Regions from separate parts of the Homo sapiens genome. Here region 2 is linked to region 1. The links are contacts of gene promoters, found by promoter capture Hi-C in human tissues and cell types (Jung and others, 2019). All regions are on one chromosome and are shown on one strand. Each heading gives the region's core, a stretch centred on a gene start or on the middle of the fragment in contact. The rest is flanking DNA. Distances are from core to core; before and after follow the strand shown.

Region 1 (2,700 bases), core at 94-2,593:
CCTTGGCTCAAGTGATTCTTCCACCTCAGCCTCCTTAGTAGCTGGAACTACAGGTGCACACCACCATACCCAGCCAATTTTTAAAATTCTTGTAGAGACAGAGGTCTCACTTTGTTGCCCAGGCTGGTCTCAAACTCCTGGCCTCAAGTGATTAAATTTTTAAAATAATGTATTTTTTCTTTATTTTTCCAATTTATATAAAAATGGAAATATTTTTTATTATTCATTAACGTTGGGTAACACTTTATATAAACTTTCCCTTTGTGTTATATGGAAGTCTAAATTTACAGAATACTTTAAAACCCCACGGCAACACAAAACCCACATTTGTCCGTGTTCCTTCCATAATTTGAAAACTTTGCCTTTTTCCCTTACACTGACTTGAAGCCTGGCAGCTTGGGCCTAATTTACAAGGCACTAAGTAAGTACTCTCTTAAAAAACAGAGAGTGAGGATGCCCTGTTTCACAACTTAATTCCAAAAAGCCAAGTCAGACGAAATCGACCCACTTTCCTGCTAAGGGTTTGTCCCAAGAGGCGAGCTCTTCTCTGTCCGCTCCAGCCAAGCTGGCCGATTGCCCCTGAGCACTGGACACAACCTTGGTGTCCCGGTTTCGGGTCAGGGTTACTTTCCAATTGTTAGGCACGACTTTGTGCGTGCGTGCGAGACTGTGGACTCGGAGGTGCGCATTTGGGGCGTAGCCGAGCCATTTAAACCAGCGAATCCGCGTTCACCTTGTCCTTCCACCTCTGCCCTATCTCGGCAGATGCTCCACGGATTTGCACGAACTCCCGAGTCTTGACCTCCCTCCCCTCTCCGGGCTGCCGGGACAACTCGGGGCGGCCACTCTTGCCAGGAGGCGTAAGTAAGGATGAAGTTGGAAAAACTGAACTAGGTCTAGGGCACGCTCTGCAACACAGTCGGGGAGACGCTTCAGAGGGCCGGAGAGGGAGGCAAGTTGCCACGGCGCGAAGGGGGCGGGCCGGCTTGGGCCGCTCGCATTTCCTGTGACAGGGGCTGCCCCAGCCTCTCCTTCTCCCGCGGCGGCGGGACCATTTCCTGAATCGCTGAAGCGGAGGGAGGACTAGGGCGCGACTCTACCATTAGCGCAAAGGGCCAGGGGGTGCCCATAAGGAGAGCTCGGGGGATGCAGGGACGGTCAAGAAAGTTCGGCCAGGGCTAGGGGTCCCCCAGAGTGCGCAGAAGCGAGACATCCCTGGCCAGAGTGCCTCCTTCAGGCCTGCCCCGCCGCCCGTCCGCTTGGCCCCGGAGCATCCCCCCTCCCCGCATTCCCGAGGTGGTTCAGCCCGAGAGGCCGGCGTCTCTCCCCCAGTTTGCCGTTCACCCGGAGCGCTCGGGACTTGCCGATAGTGGTGACGGCGGCAACATGTCTGTGGCTTTCGCGGCCCCGAGGCAGCGAGGCAAGGGGGAGATCACTCCCGCTGCGATTCAGAAGGTGAAACCGCGCGGGGTTGCGGATGCCAGGCCCTTACCGCCTCTGGGAGAGACAGACGCGGGGGGAAGGGCCGGGCCCGGAGTCGACCGGGCCGAGGCGGAGGCGGGCCTGCTGGGAATCAGCAGTGTTTGGGAACACGGACTGCTGGCTGTGCCTGAGTGGGTGGCGGAAGAGGGTGAACCGGTTTTTCTCGGAGTCTTTCACGCATTTACGCGTTTTTCTACAGACACAAAAGCCCAAACAGCCGCCGCCTGATTTCTCTAGGGATGGGGCGGCGTTCGGGCTGCGGGGCGCGTGCGCCCGGCGGCGGCCGCTCAGGGAAGGGCGTGTGTCGGACCGGCGGCCCCGCGCGTTGCTCCGGAGTTACTTTGGCGTCGCCCCGCCCCGCGTGCCGCGGCTGCTTCGTGCGGACCCCACCGCGGGTCGCGGCAGGCAGAGGGGAAGTCGGTGCGCTGGTCGCCGCCCTGCAAACTCAGCCGAGTTTGGGAGCTCGCAGGAGGACTTGGGGAACGCTGGAGGGAACCTTAGTATAGAGTTTGAGGAGCGGGCAAGGAAGGTCCCCATGGACTCTGGGGTTGTCCCCAGAGCCTCTTCTTCCCTTCTGCATCGCCGCCTATTCATTTATTCTGCAGCAAATATTTATTGAGCGCCTATTTTAGGCGCTGAGGCTACTGTGGTGAGTCATGGTCCTTGCCTTCCTGGAGCTTACAGTCTAATGGTGGAGACTGTCGTGACCAGTTAATGTAAGTCGTGATAAATACACAGGGAGCTGCCTCCTTTTTAAAGGATAGAGCTGCTGCAGTCGCTGCTGTGTTACTGCCAGTCGGAACACAAAGGTTCTTTATTGTCCTCTACCCCTTGTTGCCTGCAAGCAAGGCAGCATTCTAAATTTTACTGACCTAGACTTTCAGAAGTTGCTGCTGTATTTAGCAGTTTACTTTAAATATTTTTGTTTTGTTTTATGCTGTGTAGCAAAGATCAAAATAGAAAAAAAGGTCAAGTTTTAGTACCACTCAGACCACGTAGATTATGCTAATCGGTTTCTGTTTACTGTCAGGTTCTTCGTAGTGTGGCTTTTGACATTTGCCCAACTGTTGCTTTATTTTATGAACAAACGGGCTTGGCAGTGCCTGGAAATGCAGTGCTTTCATATAGTGCTCTGAGTTAAGTCTGCAGCCTGGCAAACAGCTCCAAGTACGCACTCACGCAAAACTGCGTTTCTGGAGGGCTCACCTTTTTTATTTT
Region 2 (2,700 bases), core at 117-2,616, 1.8 Mb after region 1:
TCCCAGCACTTTGGGAGGCTGAGTCGGGCGGATCACCTGAGGTCAGGAGTTCGAGACCAGCCTGGCCAACATGGTGAAACCTCGTCTCTACTAAAAAAATACAAAAATTAGCTGGGCCTGGTGGCGGGTACCTGTAATCCCCGCTACTCAGGAGGCTGAGACAGAAGAATCGCTTGAACCCAGGAGGAGGAGGTTGCAGTGAGCCGAGATCGCGCCACTGCACTCCAGCCTGGGCAACAGAGCAAGACTCCATCTCAATAACAACACCACCACCAAAAAAAAAAACAACCACATATTGGATGTAGTGTACACTGCTCAGGTGATGGGTGCACTAAAATCTTAGACTTCTTCACTAAGGAACTTATGCATGTAACCAAACACCACCTATTCCCCCAAAACTATTGAAATATAAAAGCAAAATAGTCGAACTCAAGAAAATAAAACTGAAAAAAAAAATCTGAGAGGAAAAGCACTTCTATTTAGCCTACTTAAAACTGTTTCCTCAAAATCTGGGCTTTGAGTAAACAAACTTACCACTTTCTCTGTTGCCACCTGGTCCAAGCCACCATTGCCTCCCACGTGGACATCTGAAAACCTACTTGCTGTCCCCAGATTTCACCCTTCCCCCTACAGCTTCTGCCCCAAATCCTCCCAAAATGTCAGTGGATTGAGGTCCTTTGCTGGAAACATCCAGTGGCTTCCAGATCTTCTCACTTGGAGTGAGAGACAGAGTCATTCTAATGACCTGCAGAGCCTTCCAGCCCCTTCCACCCCTCAGCCCCCCACCTCCCAGTTCCCTTTCTGGCTCCTCTCCAGCCTCATTGGCCTGGCCTACGCCTGCCAGTGGCCTTTCGTGTGCTGTTCCCTCTTCTGGAAGGCTTTTCTCCTGAGTGGCGTAGTCACTCCCTTCCTTCCCTAGGTCTTTCTTCAAAAGGTGCCTGCACACAGAGGATTTTCCTGGCCTCCTGCGCTGGTTTGCTCCTCCTCGTCTGCTCTGCCCTGCTTTGTGTACTGCAGCCTCAGCCCTGGGGCTTCTTGGCCCTCGGACTTGTGATTGGATTCAGCAAATGGGAGGCTCTGTCGGGAGACCTGCGGAGGGACGGGAGAGGAAGTCGTTTCAGGGCTTTACCTTCATTCTCTCCAGCCGGACTGTGGTTCCGCAGTGCTGCCGGGTTCCTCTGCCTGGCCACTGGCCTGATCTAGACTCCAGCTCTTGCTGGGCTTAGCAATACTGTCCTCTCCCCTTTCCCCCTCTGTGCCAGGATGGTAACTGTGTCCCGCACGCCAGTCTCTGTTACTTCAACCCTCCTCACCTTTGTGAGCAATCTCTTTTTCAAATTCTTCTCAGTTAACGTTTTAATTTTTTCTTTTCTTTTCTTTTTTTTTTTTTTTTTTTTTTTTGAGACGGGAGTCCCTCTCTGTCGCCTGGGCTAGAGGCAGTGGTGCGATCTTGGCTCACTGCAACCTCCGCCCCCAGGTTCAAGCGATACTCCTGCCTCAGCCTCCTGAGTAGCTGGGACCACAGGCGCGAGCCACCACACCCGGCTAATTTTTATATTTTTAGTAGAGACGGAGTTTCTCCCTTTTGGGCAGGCTGGCCTTGAACTCCTGACCTCAAGTGATCCACCCACTTCAGCCTCCCAAAGTGCTGGGATTACAGGCGTGAGCCACTGTGCCCAGACCTCAGTTACCTTTGAGCAGGCCAGCTCTTCCCTGCTGAGACCCTTAGCTGGTACCTCATCCTCTGTGAAGTTCACCTCCCCTCAGCACTTGTTACCCCTCTACCTTACTGCAGTTTCTCTTTTGTTACTTATCAGACTTCCTATGAGTGTGTGTAGTTGATTGTCTGCCTTTCCCACCGTGGTATAAACTTCAGGGCAGGGATTTTTACCTGTTTGCCGATTATCTTTGGTACCTCAACAGAACTTGGCATGTGATGGGGGTCTCTCTCTCCTCTCTCTCGCCGTCTCTCTTTCTCTCTGTGTGTGATGAATGAGTGAGTGAAATGAATGACCTACTTATCTAGCTTAAATTTATACCTTATATCTCTCAAACTCAGGGAGAAACAATAAATTTCTGTCAAGTTAGTAAATTTAACGAGTGTACAAGTCAAAGAGACCTTTTAGAGACATGAAATAGGGAAGAAACCATCAGAACTGTGGCATATTTTGCATTCTTTTGCCAAGAGGGTTTCCACAGTTAATGCCACTGATTTTTATATCCTACTCCTCTCCCCTGAATTCTGTTTTATTTTCTGAGGCAAATCTTTGAGTAATTCTTTCATTGGGGGTCTGTGAGTAGAAGAATTTCTACCTTATCTAAATCTTTATTTCACCCTCACTGGGTTATAGTTATCTTCCACTAGCATTTTGAAGATGCAATTGCAATTTATTCTGACTTCTGATATTTTCTTTTTTCTTTTTGAGACAGAGTTTTGCTGTTGCTCAGGCTGGAGTACAGTGGCGCAATCTTGGCTCACTGCAACCTCTGCCTCCCAGGTTCAAGTGATTCTCCTGCCTCAGCCTCCTGAGTAGCTGGGATTACAGGTGCACCTGCCACCATGCCTGGCTAATTTTTTAAATTTTATTTTAATTTATTTTAATTTTTTATTTTTTAGTAGAGACAGGGTTTCACCACATTGGCCAGGCTGGTCTCGAACTCCTGACCTCAGGTGATCCACCTGCCTCAGTCTCCCAAAGT

Evidence for each region. Contacts are between HindIII fragments. The study calls those that stand out against the background at their distance.
Region 2: a contact is called between a fragment that was not itself captured here and the fragment with the promoter of SS18 in region 1, in 1 of the 25 tissues and cell types used here (dorsolateral prefrontal cortex).

Annotation. Positions count from the first base shown.
Region 1 is chr18:26,089,256-26,091,955 of GRCh38, reverse strand. It overlaps SS18 (SS18 subunit of BAF chromatin remodeling complex), which reads left to right and starts at 1,343. Exons shown (of 11, transcript NM_001007559.3): 1 at 1,343-1,455. The coding sequence starts at 1,387. RefSeq lists an enhancer at 889-1,008. The HindIII fragment of the contact is 6,350 bases long and covers 1-2,700 here.
Region 2 is chr18:24,291,806-24,294,505 of GRCh38, reverse strand. The region is part of intron 14 of OSBPL1A (oxysterol binding protein like 1A); the gene reads left to right. Among named protein-coding and RNA genes, the nearest start is that of MIR320C2, 29 kb to the left of the region's middle. The HindIII fragment of the contact is 3,744 bases long and covers 1-2,700 here.